Linked DNA regions of Homo sapiens: all the other regions are linked to region 1. The links are contacts of gene promoters, found by promoter capture Hi-C in blood cells and fetal thymus (Javierre and others, 2016). All regions are on one chromosome and are shown on one strand. Each heading gives the region's core, a stretch centred on a gene start or on the middle of the fragment in contact. The rest is flanking DNA. Distances are from core to core; before and after follow the strand shown. Region 1 holds the start of CLRN3 (clarin 3). Region 2 holds the start of FANK1 (fibronectin type III and ankyrin repeat domains 1). Region 3 holds the start of FANK1-AS1 (FANK1 antisense RNA 1). Region 4 overlaps ADAM12 (ADAM metallopeptidase domain 12). Region 5 overlaps ADAM12 (ADAM metallopeptidase domain 12). Region 6 overlaps ADAM12 (ADAM metallopeptidase domain 12).

Region 1 (3,071 bases), core at 391-2,890:
CAACTGGTTCCAAACAGACACCATATGGAAACCAAAAAAAACTGTAGGTTTTGTCTCTTACTTAAAATTTGTTAAATGTGTCTGAGGCTTCAGGGCAGTTTTTGGTTTTGAAAATGCTATTCACATAACTGAAAGCATGACTGAGTCTCTGAAAGTTGCTGTAAAGCCAATGTTCCCCATCCTTATGGGAAGCTGAGGTTGACACCAGAGGAGATGTCCCTGAAAGGCTATGGCAATGCTAGGGGAGATGCTGCTTTTGCTAACATCTAAATGACAAATGTATAACTTGGGAACATAACCAGGTTGCTTTGGATTTAAGAAAATAGTTTCATTAACAAAGTCATAAACACACTAGAGCTAGAACTTAGAGCTAGTGTCTAGGACTCAAACTTCTTCATGCATTACACAAGGACTAAACATTACATGTGTATAAGGTAGAAAATGATGCATATTTATAAGTCAAAAGGTAATGACTGTATGATACCCAATAATGCCTGTATAATACTTGCATACAACATTGTTCAAAACAAAGTCCACTTAATGTGTTACATAATTTACAAATGTTTTTAAATTTAGAAAACATGAAGGTAGGTTATCAAACCTCAAAAGTCAAATAAGTAGCTAAATCAACTTATTATTCTCAATGAACTTTTAATTTTACTTCCATGGAGAGGAGGGCATTATTATATAAGAAATCAGAAAAAAAAATGTTTAGGAATTCCTATCAAATATACAATTAATAAATTAATGGAAATTTAATATAATTTCCAACGATTAGATTTTTTGGAGGTAAATTAAAATCAGTTAAAGAAATGAACTTGAGAAATAGAGATAATAAATTTTCCATTTTACTCTTTCCTGCATAGATGCCACTTGTGAAGTTCTAGACAGAGGTTGTGGCTCCAGCTAAAAACCCAGTCAATACAGTTAAAACATGTGTTCCTACTGGCTATTCAATGCCGTATTGCTGCCACATATTTTTACTTATTTACTTGTCAGTCAACTTGGTAGGTATTATTTAAATACAGCCACTGCTAGAATGATATAGACTATTGTATTAATAGACACAAGGAGAACCGAGGAAGCTCAAATAATGACATGGCAAATTTCCAAAATTATGAGTTAAGCTTGTACCTTCAGCCTAACCCAAAACTTACAAAGAAATTATTTTTGAATGGTTATTTGGCCCAAATATAGAATGACATAAACCTTAATTCAATCTCACTATATTCATTCAAATTAGTTTATCATTTACCTGCAAACTTTTTCTTTGGTTCTGCAAGTCCGTGACTCAATTCTTCACTACTCTCCCCACGAAAAAGTCCGTAAGTGATGAAAATGCTCCCATTTGAAGCAGAGTCTCTAACAGCAATTGTACTGGTGATCCATGCTTGTGTCCCAAGAATAGAGCAAATTACAATGAAGGACCCAAGGCTGGTGAAAAAGCTTGATAAGAACATCAATGTCTTCTTTGTGGTAGGCATTTTCACAGGAAAATAAGTTCTCTAGGACAAAAAAAGGAATATCTTCTTATAACACTTTTGAACCTTATCTTTTGAAGTCTGGTATTTAGAAATGGAGTCTAACACTTTATTGTCAAATATAAAATCTCACTCTTCCTGAGGAAGGGTTATGCTAATGGACATTGAACTCTGAACATGGCCATAAAATTAACAGTAGCTGAACTTTGGTCTGGAGTAAGAGGCTGCTATGGTTACAGCCAACCAGCATGAACAAGGGGTGGGCATGGTCTTCCCAGGGACTTCCTCAATCATGCAATTAATTTATAATCCTTGGCCAAGTGTCATGGAAGCAAGTTTAGCCTACCATATCATGACAGGAGTAGAATTCCTAAATAATAGGGCGTGGAGGATCTGTATTCCCAAAGCGTTGCTGAGTCTAGCAGACAACAACATGAAACCCCAACTCCTCCAAGAATTATTGGAAATATGTAAACATATACTTCACTATTGTGGATATTTATGTTGCTTCAATTTCACAATTATGATTGAGAAAGAACAACACCCAAATATCTTTAGGCATAAACCTTTGTTCATATCTCCACTTGCTTCCTTGCTTAAACTTCTAGAAGTTTGACGAAGTCTGTGGATTTTTCTGAAGTTTTTGCTATGCATTGCTCAGTTTCTTTACTCATTAGTGATTTGACTCTTATAATTGTTCCAAGAGGAATCCTAAGGAGGGTAAACCTTTGTCAAATGTACTGTGGAGTGGAAAGAGAAAAGCTTACACCTCCTTATGTTTTATACCTCTCTATTTTTAGACTTTATCAGAGAGGTTTGGCTTTCAAATTTCCTCTTTCAAATTGGATCATATTTGCGTATTATTTAAATTATATCTTGAGAAGTTTCATCTTTATTACTTTTTAGTACTCTGATAGAGATGGTTCTGAACATTCTTGTTTTTGGTCGTTATAGCTGTATCCACTCTGTTGAATGGTAAATAGTTTATAAATGGTCATTTCTGGACTTTCGAAAAACTCTCCCATTTGGCGAAAAGATCATTTCTTGAGATGATAAATAGACATTCATAGCATGTTTTCCATACCGCTTTTTACTGTATTCTTTGATTATTTAGTAATATAATATTAAGTTGGTGCAAATGTAATTGCAGTTTTTGCCATTAAAAGTTACATTTACTTTTAATGGCAAAAAAACGCAATTACTTCATCCTCTACTTTTCTTCATTAACACCTAACTTATTTGTGGAACTAGCTGATCATCTGTCTTTTCCGTTATTGTAACTAGATGACATGCTCCGGGAGGTGGACATGTTTGTTTTGTGTACCACTGGATTCCAGGGAACTCTCAAAGAGCCTGGCCCAGAGAAGACACTCAGCAAACATTTGTTCAATAAATTATTGGAGATACGTACACACATACTCTACTACTGTGGACACTTATGTTGTTTCTATCTTAAAATTATGATTAAGGAAGAACAATGCATGAACATCCTTATGCATAAACCTTTGTCCATATCTCTGATTATTTCTTTGGTTAGACTTCTAGAAGTGAGTCAAAGTCTGTGAATGTTACTGAAGCTGTTGCTACACA
Region 2 (3,071 bases), core at 426-2,925, 2.0 Mb before region 1:
TACAGGAGTACTGCTGATCTTTATACTTTCTGTCTAAAAATGAAGCCCCTGTCTCTAAATTTCAGGAACAGGGAGTTAAGGTTCCATGAAGTGTTTACTTTCCACCCTTAATTTATTACCTTAATACTTCAGCTTAAGAATTATGTGTTCTGTATATATCACGCTGCTTGTCAATATCCACACATAAACCTTCTTGTTTTGACAATTAATCTGAAAAAGTCCCCATATAGTCTGAGAGGGGGAAAACCTAATTTGGAAGAATATAATAAATGTCAGTTTCCATCACAGAATATATGCTTCTCAAGTTCAATTAACCTCTCAATGATTCCCTAAGAGGAAAGTAATTCTCCTTAGTGTCCTTGTCATCCATGGAGTGGAAATCTTTCTACTGGCAAGATTAGTAATCACTTCCATGACCCCCAAAACGGCTCTTCCTTCCATTTCCCTCAAGTACTGTCTGGAGCAGCGGTTGGAATTAATAGAGGGGCCATAATCTCCAGACCTGAATACCAAATCAATCCTGCAGCCCCCCACACCCTTAATGCCCCTGCACTTTCTTGCTTATCCTTTTTCTCTCGTCTCCATTTTTCTTTCCTCCTTCTGGTGTTCCGGAACCTATGATACTCTCCTGGTTGTTTGAATTTTTACAACCTACCAGATAATAATCTCTTGTGATCCTCAAAGCTTCCTTAAAGCAAACCCTGAATCACTGTGTTTTAAAACCAGTATGAAAGACTATTGTGTGGGATAATGTTACATTGTTTCACAGCCCTACAAAGTTTGGCCACAAAACGTGTGGGCAGATTCCGTAACTCAACCGGAAACGCGAAGGACTGAAACAAATCAACACACAAAAAACGAAGCCAGCGAGAAAGATCCAACCCGGGCCCCCTGCCTGAAATGGGACACGGGGATGACGGGGCAAAGCCGGGCAAAACCGTGCTCCTGGCTCTCGCGATTCAGGAGACGCGCCAGGCTCACTGGGGACGACAGCGACGACGGCGGCGGCTCGCATTGCTCCACGCTTCCCGTCAGGGGGGCTCGAGGGACCGCCCCAGGCCCGGCCCATGCCCGGGCTCGGAGGGAGCCCCTGGTGCGAGGGCTGCCCGCAGGGCTCCGTCCTCCCGCTGAGGCGCGGCTCCCGGAGCAGGAGGCGCGGAGGCCGCCCTCGGCGTTTCGGAGTCGGGGCGGGGAACGTCCACGGCCAACTGCGGGCAGGGGACCCCCAGGCGGCTACAACAGGTGCGCCGGGGCCGCCCACCCGGCTCGGGGCGCGCCCGCCCCTGCGCCGACCCCCGACCCCTTCCGCCGCCGGGGCCCCGCTGTTACCTGCAGCGGCGGCTCCCGATTCCCGGGAGGGCGGCCCAGGGCCGGCGCCTTACCCGCGGGCAGGCCCACTCGCCCGACGGACGCCGCGGGTCGGCGACAGCGGGGACCGCGGGTCGGCGACGTCGGGGCACAGGTCCTGCGGGGCCGCGGGGGCCGCCAGGGAGGGCGCGACCGCCTGACCGGGCTTCAGGAGCAGTGTCCTCAGCCGGTGACCTGGCCGCTACCCTCGCTCAGTGTCCCCGGCGACGCGCGGGTCCTCACGCGCTCCCTCACTTCCTGCGGCTTTTGGTCCCTCCCGCTCGCCGTCCCTTTAGTTCTGCCCACTTCGCCTCCGGGTTGTCAGGGCAACCGTAGCGACGCCGGCCCTGGCTGAGAGGCGTTAGGAGTCCGGGGGTTCGCCCGCGGAGGCCGGGGAGCAGCCGACCATGGAGCCCCAGAGTAAGGGAGGCCCGGGCTGGAGCTGGGACCGGGGCGGGCGACCGGGCTGGGGCTCCCCGGGAACGAGTGTGGGCGCCCCGCGCGCGACTCCGCAGGTTTCAACGCTCGGACACGGAAATACGGTTTGCGTCTCCTCGCGCTTTTCTCTCCTGGAGAGGGGAGAAGGGGGCTACATCCTGCCAAGTCTGTATGGTTGGGCCGCCGGCGCCCTAGAGTCCGCGCTGGGGGCTGGGAGCGACTGGAGAGCCCCGAGGTATGGGTGGGGAAGGGCGCAGCGACCCCAGCGTGCGTCTTCCTGAAACTTCGCCCGGACGGTTCCATTTACTCCTCCTCCTACTCATGATTTTAGTTTGGTAGTTTGGTTCATTAATTGTAAGTAGCCCATTTTTCTTCTAAAATGTCAGCAATTAAACACGTCCGAGGCTGGGTCTTGTATTTATTAGAGACCCCGTCTTACTCCCCGCCCCCCGCCCCACACCCCTAGTCTGCGACTTGAAGGAGAGAGAGAGAAAAGAAGAGCTTTGTCCAAGTGTATTTGATTCATTCTTAGGGGTTCTACAAGTTAGGACACTCAAAAAATGTTTGTAATCTCTTTTTCTGTTTTCCCATGTTGCTTTCGATGTATGGCAAAAGTTGTGCAGTTTTGAGTTATCAGATCTAAACACGAGCTCTAACTTACTATTTTTGTTGTTGTTTTTACCTTTCCAGGGACTTTGTTTCAAGGCCTTTCTTTCTCTGCCCCGCCTAAGCTGTCTTATTGTTCCTTTTGTTCTCAAAATAAGGGGAGTGTTTTGTATGGAGACTTAAAATTTATCTAAAACCTTTATAGAAGGATGCAGTTTGACTCTCAAACCAAGTCGTCTTATCTTGTACAATTTCAGAAATGAAGAACTCAGACCAAATCTATTCTCTGGGGAAAATGTTGGCATTTTTAAAGGTCATTCGTTTTCCACCAAGAAAGTTTCAAATACTTTTCCTTTTAACTCATTTGCTGAGGAGAAAGCTTGCAAGTTGTGACTTATAGTTGCTTGATAGATTTTGTACAGTATTTGTCATTTGCATTTACAGCTCTTTGGATTCTACATTTTTTTAACCTAGTAAAAGAAATTTAGCATACAAGAACGCTAAAATTTTTGTTTTATGTCAAACTGATGGCAGGCTGTGTATATTCCCGCCTTAGAGAAGTGAGTTGAAATATACCTTTTAAAAACAGCAACTTGGCCTGGCCCGGTGGCTCACGCCTGTAATCCCAGCACTTTGGGAGGCTGAGGCAGGCGGATCACGAGGTCAGGAGATTGAGACCA
Region 3 (3,071 bases), core at 321-2,820, 1.9 Mb before region 1:
ACTCCGCCTCCTGGGTTCACGCCATTCTCCTGCCTCAGCCTCCTGAGTAGCTGGGACTACAGGTGCCCGCTACCACGGCCGGCTAATTTTTTTGTATTTTTAGTAGAGACAGGGTTTCACCATGTTAGCCAGGATGGTCTCGATCTCGTGACTTTGTGATTCGTCCACCTTGGCCTCCGAAAGTAAAGTGCTGGGATTACAGGTGTGAGCCACTGCGCCCGGCCGCTCCGGTCTACATTTTATATCTCTACTCTTAAGAGGCAGTATGGTACAAGGTTAAAAGTAAGGGACTTCTGAGCCAGATTATCTTCATTTTAATCCTGGTTCTACCAGTTATTTCTGTGTGACCTTGGGCAAGTTATGTAACTTCTCTGTGCCTCAGATTGTTTATAAGGGAGATAATAAAAATCCTTACAGCATATAGAGTTGGTGAAGTTAAATGTGGTGAAAGTTAAATGAATAAATAAAGCATCCACACTAGTACATGACCCAAATTAAGTGTCATATAAGTGTTGCCGCATTGCAGTTCTCCTCAGTGACGGCCTGTGACCTGCCATTTCTGTCGGCTCTTACCAAGGCTCGGTGCCGCCCCGGGCCTCTGCTCCATTGTCATAGTAATGTTTGCACTCTGCTAGTCACCTGTAAATATACATATTTAGGATCCTAAAACCAATATCCTAAAATATGTATATTAGCAGATGATGACAAAAACACCAGAATTTTTATCAAAGAGAAAGTAGAAAGTATATGGGTTAATATTGTAAGGATTAGGATACACCTGTCAAATTACTCTAGGTTGGCTTAGAAACAAAGCAAAACAAATTGGGTCCCATCCACTATTTTTTGGCATTCTGAAAATAACTAGCTCTTACCTGATGAGGTCATTCATTCATGACCTGACCATCCAGGTCCTATCTGGCAATAATAGCTTTTTGCAAAAAGCAACTCTTGCCTAAGTGGAGATTTACATCTTGATGAGTTTTGTATGAAAGTAAAGAAGATGCAGGAACATTATCAGTGGGGCGTACACTAACCATTGGCATTTCTGAGCAACGTGTTGCGTAGTTGTGTGATTTGGCAGCAGCTGGTCCATTGCTGACACGTGTGTGTGTTCACTGAGGCTTCACTCACACCTAAGGCTTCCTTGGAGAGACCATGCTGCCATTACATTTGGATCACTACCTGCCCCCAACACACACACACACACACACACACACACACACACACACACGAACCAACTTTCCAAGCACCACACCCACCTTTTCCGGGCTCTGTACCAGATCTGGAGGGGTGATGGCTAGAAGTGAGGGTTTTTGCTCCATCATGAGTAGCAGCTGGAAGTGGGCCTGTGCCCAGCTCTGGTGGCAGTGGGCCACCTGTGGCTGGTGCCAAGCTCACTGATGGAGATCTCTCATTATGTACCTACATCAATGATCAGTAAAGAACAAGCCATAAGAAACTTTTGGGTCTCTGGGAATGTTATCTTTTTACTCCTCATATAACTTCATGGTGAACTGTTTTGAAATTTGACATTAATTTAGAATTTCTTGCCTGTTCTGATCTCTAGTAGGATTCTAGGCTGGATGTCTTTGGAATTGAAATACTTGTTGGCTTCTGGTTATTTTGGGGGTAATCCATAACAGTCTACCATTCCTGGTGTTTGGTTTTAGTGGGCTGTGAAAAAAATCATTTGTTCAACACTGATGTCGTGATACAAGGACGTGAAGATGTGAGTCATTGTGACATCACCAGCCAGAATTGCTGGGATTCAGTGAGATGACTCACAGTAAGAGGTCAGTGTCTGGTTCAGTAGTTCCTTCTTCCACATGTATCCCTCAGTATCTAGAACCCTGAAATTGGTTTCTCTAAGAAAACCAAGAGGCCCATAAGGGTAATGTATACTGTTGATTTTTATGGTTATTTTTCAAAAACTAATATTTTAAACATATCAAAATTATTTCAAATGGTAATGTACTCAATGTACCATTTGGTTTAAGATGTTAACATTTTGCCATATATGTCATAAAGTCTTTTCATGAAGAAATCAAACCTTACAAATATACTGGTAAGACCCCCCTCCTGCCCATCATGCCCCCATCCCTTCCGTTATGTTGTTGAGGTGGTGTATGTTCTTCCCTTCAGCTTTTTAACTTTTACTACATATCTGTGCATTCATAAATAACATGTAGTGTTTTTTGCGTGTTATGTAGTGTGTCCTTTTGCAACCCATGTTTTCCACCCATCCATTTTGAATTGATCTATGTTGATGCAGGTGTATACAAAACTCATACAGCTAATTTCTTTTAGTTGTTGTATAGGATTTTACTGTAGGAAATATGCCATCATTTATTTAGATACTTTGTAACTTAATTATCACAAAACACTTTGTGGTATTTTTAACTCAGTTTCAGAGAACATATTCAAACCTAGGTTTATCCAATTCCATCATGCTTTCTATAAACATTTGGAAAATAAAGTTGGGAAAGTGAGCTTGCAGGCTGCCTCCTAGCATATCTCTGGGGTCTTCGTGTAAGGGAAATTGTTGGCTGTGTGCCCCACTGGCCTGGGGTGGCAAGACCAGGGCAGCCCTGTCTTCGTCAGTGGGTCTGCACTGCAGGAAGACCCCTGGGTCTTCAGAGGGTGCTGGTCAGCTACTTGGGACATTGGCTCAAGGGAAATACAAGATCCTTTTTTTTTAAATGAACAATGCAGTAAATCTGTGATATATTTGAGGCTCAAGAAGGATTGAGTTACAGGGAGAAGTTTCAAAGGAAGTGTAAGACATGGACCCAGCCTGTAAGAAACTTAAAGTGTAGCAGGGGAGACAAAACTAACATAGAACAATTGCATGCTACACAGCTTGGTATACACTCTACTGCACCCCTTGTTACCTTTGGCAAAAATGAGATATTCTGTGTTTTTCTTTGCACCTTGATTTCTCACCCAACAATACTTAGTGGAGGTCCTTTCAAAGCACCTAGTATAGAACAAATTCATTTTTCAAAGGGTGTATAATGTTCCACTTTATGGACATAGAATAACTTATTTGTCCAGTCTCTTATAAATGGGTC
Region 4 (3,071 bases), core at 209-2,708, 1.8 Mb before region 1:
TTAATTCAGGAACAGAAAACCAACTACCACATGTTCTCACTTATAAGTAGGAGCTAAATGATGAGAACACATAGGCACATACAGGGGAACAAAACACACTGGGCCTATCAGAGAGTAGAGGGTGAATGAGGGAGAGGATCAGGAAGAATAACTAATGGGTACTAGGCTTAGTATCTGAGTGACAAAATAATCTGTACCACAAGCCCCCATGACACAAGTTTACCTGTATAACAAACCTGCACATGTACCCCTGAACCTAAAAGTTAAAAGACAAAATATGATTTGAGCCTAAAAATATCAGATGTCATTTTAATGTCAAGGCCTGAATATGAGCAAATGTGGGTAAGGAGACATTCAGAATGTATAAGAAGATTCATGTACGATCCTATTTCTCAAGGAAAAAGGATTTGTGGCTCAGGGTGTGTGGGGCCAAAGACAGGAGAGTGGAGGCAACACCTGTCCTCAGGATTCTGTCTCTGCCTCTGTCTTTTCTTGCCTGTGTGACCTCATGTTAGTGAGTGATTTCAAGACCATGTTGAAAATGGAGTCCTAAGAAGCATTTGGGGGTTGTTTCATCCTTTTCTTAAAACATTGTATTCGCTTGCTGTCATTTAGTCTGATGAGAAAGTTTGGTGAAAAAAAAAAAATCAGTATGGCAGAGCATGAAAATCTCAAATTCTTTTTTTCTTCCAAAAAAAAAAAAAGTTTGACTTTATTTCTAAACCTCAAAATATCTCCATGTATCTTTCTCCCTGTTCTCTGAAAGGACTCCCCTCTGGTTTTGAGTTTCTTCCACTCCTTTCCCTCTCCTATTCTTCTCTCTACAGGGTTCTAAAAATACATCTGATTTCCCATTCTGTTCAGGTGAGGACAAGCCCCCAAGAACTCTGTGCTAAAAACCAAGCCACATATCCAAAACCAATAGAATATGCGATTGTATTTCTTTCCAAAGTAATTTCCTGGCTAGAAGTCCTCATGCCACCTGGAGTGTAGAAATGACTTATTAACACTCAAGGCCTAAGAAGACAGGCTTGATTTTTCCCCAATCTGCATTTTAATAGTCAGACCAGGATCTAGGATTTATTGACTTTTTCTTCTAGGTGCATCTGAGAAGAAGTAGATTTAGGAAAACCAACAAACCTTGTAACCCAGTTCTTGCTGTTTTTCAATGGGCCCTGTTCCAGACTTACATTTATGATCCAAGCAAACATTTGGGTCTTACTTTTCCATCTGCACACTTTGTGCCTGCAAGCACAAGCCCTGGGTCCGGCATGTCATCGCCCAAGTACACGTGGGTCCCCCGGCACAGAATCCGGCCTCCTTGCTGCAGGGGGATGTTTGTTTCTATGGAAACGGCATTGGTACCAATGACTGGCCGGCTGGCACCTCCTTGACACTGGATTTTTCCACATTTAGCATCTCTGGAAGGGTAAGAACAAACAATTCCCAAGGAGAAACCATTTGGAACCAACCCTATGCAATGTGGGAAGGTCAGAGCAAAGACTTTGCCAGGATGTCTGGATTCCATACCTCATCTCGCATTTGGCAAAGGAACTCTTCGAGACTTTGCCACAGTTGCCATAAGGATCACCTGCAGAATTGACTCTCTCAAAGCAGATCCCAGGGGCAGGTTTAGCACCTGAAACAGAAGCAGAACTGCATTTTCATCTCCTGCAGGTGATTTTTTTTTTTTCATGGCTGTAGGCCTCTCAAATGGTTACGGGGAGACGTGCTCAAAGCAATCACACCCAGTGTCTGTCCCGACTCATGGTGGGAGCTGGCCAGGGGAAGCCTAGGGTGTCAGCAGCTCGCATCCTCTCTTGACTCGGCCTCTGGCAGAGCACATGTTCCAATGCTTACTCTTCCTTAGGTCTGCTCTCTGGGCTTGTGGCATGTGTGGCCTCTCAGGAAATGAGGCCTGGCTGTGGAATGAGATCTGATCCAGGGCAGAAAGGAGGTGGCTGGCTGGCTGGCTGGCTGGCTGGCTGGCTGGCTGGCTGGCTGCAGAGAAGGGGAAGTTTGCTCTCTTTAACAACATCCCACACAATTCCGGTGAGGAAATGCAAGCCAGGGCAGGCTCCAAAGGAGCAATGAAGATATCTTCTATGATATTTTTAGTCCCATAAAGCTCCCTATAAGAGAAAGTACTACCTTCTTTTAATACCTTCTATTTTATTTGCAAGGCAGAGATTTCTCTCAGAGGCCATGGAGTCATAAACCCTGGTAATCCCTATGTACAACATGACGGTTCCCAGCAAAGAGGGTCATGGCAGCCAGAGAGCTCAGAAATGGCCATTTTTAGCACATCTTCCAGCCACGGAGAGAGCACATATAATCAGCATTTGCAGCCAAAGTTCTGGAGGACTCCTGAATCCTGGACATAGTGATGTCTGTTGAAGACTATTGAGCAAGTCAAGAAAACATGCCACATTCTTTAGAACAAACCATGCCCTGCGGCGTGGTCCCTTTTCTCTCCCTGATTGGTGTCCTGTTTGGCACTTTATCTCACATCGCTTCTGATGGCCAGGATGCCGACACTCCAGAGCCTCACTCTGACTCCTGCCCTTCTCTGCTCTCCACCCTGGGGAGGCTTTGCTTTCCAAGGTGACAACGGATTTATTTAAGATACCTCGTCCCAGGGAACAGAAGATGTTCTTCTTACTAAAAACATCCCCCTTCGTTAGCCTGCACCTGATCCCTTCTCATCAGCTACTAGCAGACATGATCATCTCATTCAACACACACGTGCCACACCACCTTGCCATCATTTGATGTGAACAGTGTGCTCAGCGCTCCAATCTCTGCAATGAGCCAGCCTTGCACCTCTCCTTTTCTCATTTCTTTTATAAGCCATGTTAGAGAAGCCTCTGCAATCTCTTTTTTCAGGGGCATTAGCCCAGACTGGACACAATTCTCTGTCATGGAGAAAGATGAGGTCCCTAGCTCCTCACATCACATGCCCTTTCCTTCCATCTGTTCCACATCTGCCTTGCTCACAGTAGGATGACACCACCGACACACTCAGCTCCTATTAGGGACCTGATTTGTCCGCATTCTGCCTTCTTTTTCTC
Region 5 (3,071 bases), core at 263-2,762, 1.8 Mb before region 1:
AAGTGGAGGCTAAACGAGCTTCAAACAAAAAGATCAAAGTCTGGTTAACTTCCAAGCACTGTGAAATGCTAGCTCCTAGTACTGACAGGCAAAAGATGTGTCTTTCTTTCTCCCATTGGGAGTTGCCCTGACTGCGAATCCCCCCGTATATGATAGTGCTCAAGAACATTTCCAATATGGTATAGAATGTAGTACTTGTAGCCAAAATAGAGCACGCTTTACACTGTAAAACCACAAATACAAGTAAATTTGAGAGCAAGATGATTCAGGAGGCGAAGGGATGAGCAAACAGTTAAAGATCATTCCCTCCGTTTAATACATAGATGGTGTCAAAGAAGCAAAACAGCCTGTTCCATTCTGGAAGGGCCAGTTTTTCTTTAGCTCAACAAGAGCATGTAGTTAGGAGCACAACCAACCAATGAAGCAATCCACAAACAAAACAAAAACGCCATTTAGATGGCTGTTACCTGCTACGCAGCTGTGGTTGTCTTCTGTTCCTGAAAGCTTTTTTCTGGCCCTTTTCATAAAGCTCATGTCACATGAGCTCACCCCACATCTTCCGTCCATTTCCTGGCCACAGCCAAGTCCAGGCACTGAGCTCAGAGTGAGACGTGGCCACAAATTGTGGGATCCATTCTCTGGAGAAGACAATCTAATGACTGTTTTTTTTTTTTTTTTTTTTTTTTATGTGGAGTTTCGCTCTGTAGCCCAGGTTGGAGTTCAGTGGTGCGATCTCGGCTCACCGTAACTTCCGCCTCCCGGGTTCAAGCGATTCTCCTGCCTCAGCTTCCTGAGTAGCTGGGATTACAGGTGCACACCACCATGCCTGGCTAATTTTTTTGTATTTTTATTAGAGATGGGGTTTTGCCATGTTGGCCAGGCTGGTCTCAAACTCCTGACCTCGGGTGATCCACCCACCTCGGCCTCCCAAAGTGCTGGGATTACAGGCGTGAGCCACCATGCCGGCCACAACTTTTATCATTCATTCCATAACTAGCTTGCTGAGCTTTTCCAAAAACAACTTAGCCATTCTTAGTTCACAGCCAGTTCTACATATTCCTAGTCCCTTGAGAAGCATAAGCCCAACATGAATTCCCTCTTCTCTTCCCAAGTGAGAGCGAGGTCCTCTTACAGTATGAGGGGGCAGGGGACCACAGTGTGGGGAATGGACATTGCTTGGACAAGCTGCTGACCAAAAATTCTAGGGCCATCTTCAGGAAAATCTTCAGGTCTTTCCCCAGTTATGCCCAACAATAAAAACTTTCAATCACCACACACAGAATTTATGTGCAACCAAGTAGCACGCCTGGTAGGCCAGGGCGGTGGCATTTGTACTCGCAGGTGACCGGCCTCATGTTCAGTGCCGTGGCAGGCCTGCTGTGGATGCAAGGAGGTCATCTCATTTTAGGGGCTTTTTACTCCATGCTGCCTGGAGCGGGGCTGGCCAGGAGCCACCATTTGTTTAGTGAAACCCTGCTGGGGACCAGAAGCCTGGCAGACATTCTCTCACTGACACCTCTGGGAGCCAATTATGACTCCTATTTTAGAGATGAGGAAGCTGAGTGCAGGCAGCTTGGGTTCCTTGCCGGGACCCTGCAGTTCCTGCGTGGAGACTGAAAGCACAGATCTGACTAGAAGGCCTGTGTTCTTCCCACTCAACCACACCGTCTCGAGGGCTATCAGGAGCTGCCCCAGGGCAGGGCCTCTGGGCAGCCTCAGGCATGACCCAGCACAAATGGCTATGCCAGCAGCAGTAGTATCCATGGGTTGGGAGAGGCAGCTGCTCCGATGCCTCGGGACTCCCTGGAGCCAGACGTAAACAGAAGGAACACCCAAGGTTCTACACTTCCTTCCAGGTGTACCTTAGAGGACTTCCCTAAAGGTCTTTGGTGTAACAGAAGACAAAGGCCCAGTCTTGGGATTCATCCAGCTAGCCTGAGGTGATACCTGGGCCAGATCGTGCACACCTGAGGAGGGCTGCAAGCCTGTTGAGACCCTAATGAGCTGCAGGCAGGGGAAATAGGCGCCCCGCCTCAAAAGCCTCGTGACTCCTCCTCATGGTGTGATGGGAGAGGGAGCTGGGCCTGAGTCAGCCCACTCTGCCTGCCCAGCGGTGCACAGGGACACAGCTCTGACCACACAGGCTCAAACGATAGAACAGAACCGAGGCTGAAGCTAATGGGGCAATCCATCCTCACGTCCACTCCAGAAACAGAAAGTGACTGCCTTATAACTGGACGCTGAGCCAGTGGGCCAACCAGACGGACCACAGAAAGCTAAGAAAACCACCAGGCCAGGAGCAAATGACCAGAAAGATCCTTAGTAGGCCATTTCCATTGTTAATAGCAAACACCTGGGCCCCAGAATGCAGCCATCTGCAGCACATTATAATTCATGGTCTTAACTTGTGAACTTTGACCTCTGCTCCTCCTCCCTGAAACCAATTTAAGTGCAAATATAATTTCCCAGAATTTTTAATAAAGTCACCAACTGAGCTCTGGTCAGTTGAGACATGTACAGGAAGCTTCTGGACGTTACCAGAAAGTGGACTTTTCACTTCTGAGCTACGATGGCTATTTCTTCCTGCACCAAGTCCTGAAAGACCAAGAACCCAGGGGCGGGGGACACAGTGTCCATATTAAAAGGACCTCAGCCCATCAGAGGCCATGTATCAGACGAGCTACTCAGCTTCATTGCAAGAAATGACTGCTGAATTTGTGTGGGGGTTGTTGGAGGAGCAGACTCTCGTAGACATGGACAGATGCAGTGGTTAATAATGGACAGTGGGCATGTCTGAAATGGTACCACCCTTTCTTCCTAGCCCAGTAGACAGACCTGCACAGAATACGCTAGTTCTTTCTGCTGACTTAGCAAGCCTGTAACAGGATAGAGGCTTCTAATCAAACATGATAGAAAAAGCAGTCACGGTAGATATCTACAAGCCTGCCACCAGGGCTGAAGTCTACATGTGCCCAGTTCTTGCCCCACTGAGCAACTGACACTGAAGTTACCACCAGGGCAATGTGGAACTCAAGAATGGGAAAGAGCTGTCCCTCTCAACCCTCCCCATC
Region 6 (3,071 bases), core at 269-2,768, 1.8 Mb before region 1:
CGCTAAGATAGCTTGCAAAATTGAAATGGGCAGAAAAATTATCAACCCTGGAGCCGGTGTAGAACAAGTGAGCACCCACAAAGCCTTGGCACCTAGGGAGGAAGCTTCTGGAAGGGGACTTCATGGCTTCAATGCAGTCGTCCTTCTATCTGGAATCTTAACCTGATCATGAATCTAATGACACCAAGGGCCTGTTGAACACAAGTGCTGTTAATTCCAACCTCATGCATGAAAAACAAAACGCTGTATTTGTTGAATTTCCTTTAAAGGAGTCAAATGACTTACCAATGCTATCTTGGCCATGTATGTATACAGATATATTGTTTGAAAAGTTAGATATTTTAGCTATGGTCAATTGAACAGAAAGTGGTAAGTGTATATAAAACCTTCTCCCTCCTTCCCTCCCTCCCTCTCTCCCTCCCTCTCTCCCTCCCTCCCTCTCTATCCACCTATCCCACTATACTTATATTTACAGTGGTAGAAATTTCGGCCTTTATTTACATCTATATAGACTATATGAACAGATATAATTATACATGTATATAAATAATAAAGTTACATAAGATGATAATTTATTTCCAGATGTTCAAGTTGGACAGACTCCATTTGGGAAAAATATCAAAACACTCTGACTCAAAATACATAAAATGTACTTTTAGTAGTTCAAGACTAATCAATGCATAAAATGTGAGGCAACCACAAATATCCAAGGGTAGGGGCAGGGGGGAACCCTGTGAAAATGGCCGAAGTAAATTATCAAAGAATGCCAACAGCCTCAGTTCAGACGTAGGCATTTTCTGAAGTGACAATGGGGTAGGACTGGTTTTTTAACTTTCCACAAATGTTCAATAGCTACATTGGGTTTGTCAAAGGAAAGTCTCTGTCCCAGAAGCTTTCCTTTCTGTGCTATAAGCCACATGACAACAAAAGAATAATAGCACAAAGTATTTAAAGATTTAAATAAAAATTTGTCACTTCTAGAAACATCTACTTCATACTAATTTAGATTGTTCCTTTTTTTTTTAAGTATAAAAGCATCGGCAACATCTCAACAATTTTTGTGTTATAATAGAGCTATGCTTTGCCTTAGTTTATCATCTTCCAGTTGATCCTGCTGAAATTGTCCTCTTTATTGTTGTCTCTCAGTAGAGTGGAGACTTCTGAGAGCAGGGAGATTTACAGTGTTGGTCACCACTGTGTTCAAAGCCCCCCAAACACTCTTTGGTTCCTAACGGGTGATGCATATTGATTTAAAGAGGGAACACAAGGTTAATGTGCTATGCTTCCCGGTATTCTCTGATCTAGAAAACCAAAGAGTCACAGCCACAACAGGAGGAGGAATAAAGTCTTTTTTCCCTCCAGGAATCTGACAGTATTCACCCAAAGTACTGTCCTTAGATATTGTATAAACATACATTTTCCACTAATAATGATGAATCTTTAAAAACAGGCTCCTCGGCCTGGCGCGGTGGCTCATGCCTGTAATCCCAGCACTTTGGGAGGCCGAGGTGGGCGGATCATGAGGTCAGGAGATTGAGACCATCTTGGCCAACATGGTGAAACCCTGTCTCTACTAAAAAAAAAAAAAAAAAATACAAAAATTAGCTGGGCGTGGTGGCGTGTGCCTGTAATCTCAGCTACTCGGGAGGTTGAGGCAGGAGAATCACTTAAACCAGGGAGCTGGAGGTTGCAGTGAGCTGAGATCATGCCACTGCACTCCAGCCTGGTGACAGAGAGAGACTCTGTCTCAAAAACAAACAAACAAACAAAAAACAAAACAAAAAAATAGGCTACTCAGAACAACTTTACATCACAGCTAAAATCAGAAAAATTGGTATAGAAGAAAATGTCCGGGTTCTAGAAGAAGGAAATGAGAGTTCTGTAGAGGGACAGGTTTTCCAGGGTGTTCAGAGGGAGACTTTCCTAGCAGACCTTCAGTTCCAGGTGAGGGTGGCATCTGCCCCCCTGGTGTGAGCTGAGAAGCCCCCTTGCACAAGGCAGTGTGCTCTGCAGAAAGGTGGCAGCTCCTGGGGCTGTGCAGGTGAAACGAAGGGCTTCGCCGAGAGCACTCCTTTTTTTTTTAAGCAGACAAGACGTAACTCCCTACCTGACAAGCTGCGCATTGTCATGGGATTTGCGAGGTAGAAGCTTCATCTTCCTCCAGTCCAGAAATTCATGGAGGCTGGTGAATGGGTCCTGACTTACAGAGCATTTGTCCATGTCATTCCACACTTCCACGCCTACCAACACGATCCGAATGTTCAGTGGTCTGTAAAACTGGGCAAAACAGGCAAAACTGGCATTGGAGTTGGGATCACGTTAATAAAAACTCGAAATGAAAATTAGAACAGATTTGCGTTATTTGAGGGTCACTGACACAGGTGAGAAAAATATCTCTGTGCTCTTTGGTTCCTGTGGTGTTGGAATTTAAGAAATATTTGCAGTGCCTAATGCAAAGTGATGTGTTAACTAGGTTCTCGAAGATTGACCAATTAGATGCTGAAGTTATCAGCTTTTTTACTGTCTACTTGCATTTGTATGGAAGCATACATTTCAAATGACTCACTGGTGATTTAAAATGTACATACAGATGTGTATTATAGCTAAAGATGGCCAGTTAATATCCACTGCAAGTGAAACAATAAGTGAATTAGGATCTTTCAGACACTTCTGCCAAGGACAATAACTTGTTCATTTTGAGCAAAATGTTCTGCTTATTAGTTACTGAAAATGAATCTGTATTAATTTTTCAGCAAAGTCTCAGCTCTGGCTAACACTATCATATTCTGTCACCTATAATCAACGCAGGTTTTAATAAAATAAAGAAGTCAATATCTTTCAGAATAACAAAGGCATAAACAGAGCCCTTCTTCAGGAACATTAATGACTATCCTCCCCACAGCCAGAAGTTAGCTCACCAACAGTGTCATGGAAAGGTCTGTTAAATGAAGTTCCTCTTTTATGCGCCTGTGAAACAAAGCATCCGGCACACCACTGAAAGCAAGACTTCTCACTCCCCTGCCTGCCCCCACCATCTTTGGGTGTTCCTGACTTCAGCCTATGGCCCATAC

Evidence for each region. Contacts are between HindIII fragments. The CHiCAGO score rates a contact against its expected background, and 5 or more counts as called.
Region 2: a contact is called between the fragment with the promoter of FANK1 here and the fragment with the promoter of CLRN3 in region 1, in 4 of 17 cell types (M0 macrophages, naive CD8 T cells, activated CD4 T cells and 1 more). The highest score is 6.9, in M0 macrophages.
Region 3: the fragment with the promoter of FANK1-AS1 here is called in contact with the fragment with the promoter of CLRN3 in region 1 in 9 of 17 cell types (non-activated CD4 T cells, naive CD8 T cells, activated CD4 T cells and 6 more); the score reaches 15.3 in non-activated CD4 T cells.
Region 4: a contact is called between a fragment that was not itself captured here and the fragment with the promoter of CLRN3 in region 1, in 4 of 17 cell types (M2 macrophages, M0 macrophages, monocytes and 1 more). The highest score is 11.4, in M2 macrophages.
Region 5: a contact is called between a fragment that was not itself captured here and the fragment with the promoter of CLRN3 in region 1, in 2 of 17 cell types (M0 macrophages and M1 macrophages). The highest score is 7.1, in M0 macrophages.
Region 6: a contact is called between a fragment that was not itself captured here and the fragment with the promoter of CLRN3 in region 1, in 2 of 17 cell types (M0 macrophages and M1 macrophages). The highest score is 12.7, in M0 macrophages.

What each region holds. Positions count from the first base shown.
Region 1 is chr10:127,891,301-127,894,371 of GRCh38, forward strand. CLRN3 (clarin 3) reads right to left here and starts at 1,641. Exons shown (of 3, transcript NM_152311.5): 1 at 1,256-1,641. The coding sequence starts at 1,484. The HindIII fragment of the contact is 797 bases long and covers 1,445-2,241 here.
Region 2 is chr10:125,894,889-125,897,959 of GRCh38, forward strand. It overlaps FANK1 (fibronectin type III and ankyrin repeat domains 1), which reads left to right and starts at 1,676. Exons shown (of 11, transcript NM_145235.5): 1 at 1,676-1,767. The coding sequence starts at 1,755. It also overlaps a transcript of DHX32 not described here. RefSeq lists silencers at 1,181-1,260, 1,481-1,560, 1,721-1,860, 1,952-2,246. The HindIII fragment of the contact is 2,086 bases long and covers 683-2,768 here.
Region 3 is chr10:125,971,703-125,974,773 of GRCh38, forward strand. FANK1-AS1 (FANK1 antisense RNA 1) reads right to left here and starts at 1,571. Exons shown (of 4, transcript NR_102707.1): 1 at 1,552-1,571; 2 at 1,260-1,422; 3 at 1,035-1,143; 4 at 486-639. The region is part of intron 1 of FANK1 (fibronectin type III and ankyrin repeat domains 1); the gene reads left to right. The HindIII fragment of the contact is 7,061 bases long and covers 1-3,071 here.
Region 4 is chr10:126,048,031-126,051,101 of GRCh38, forward strand. It overlaps ADAM12 (ADAM metallopeptidase domain 12), which reads right to left. Exons shown (of 23, transcript NM_001288973.2): 15 at 1,531-1,639; 16 at 1,223-1,421. Among named protein-coding and RNA genes, the nearest start is that of FANK1-AS1, 76 kb to the left of the region's middle. RefSeq lists an enhancer at 1,268-1,768. The HindIII fragment of the contact is 6,518 bases long and covers 1-3,071 here.
Region 5 is chr10:126,081,702-126,084,772 of GRCh38, forward strand. The region is part of intron 11 of ADAM12 (ADAM metallopeptidase domain 12); the gene reads right to left. Among named protein-coding and RNA genes, the nearest start is that of FANK1-AS1, 110 kb to the left of the region's middle. The HindIII fragment of the contact is 2,020 bases long and covers 503-2,522 here.
Region 6 is chr10:126,098,965-126,102,035 of GRCh38, forward strand. ADAM12 (ADAM metallopeptidase domain 12) reads right to left here. Exons shown (of 23, transcript NM_001288973.2): 9 at 2,108-2,277. Among named protein-coding and RNA genes, the nearest start is that of FANK1-AS1, 130 kb to the left of the region's middle. The HindIII fragment of the contact is 1,256 bases long and covers 891-2,146 here.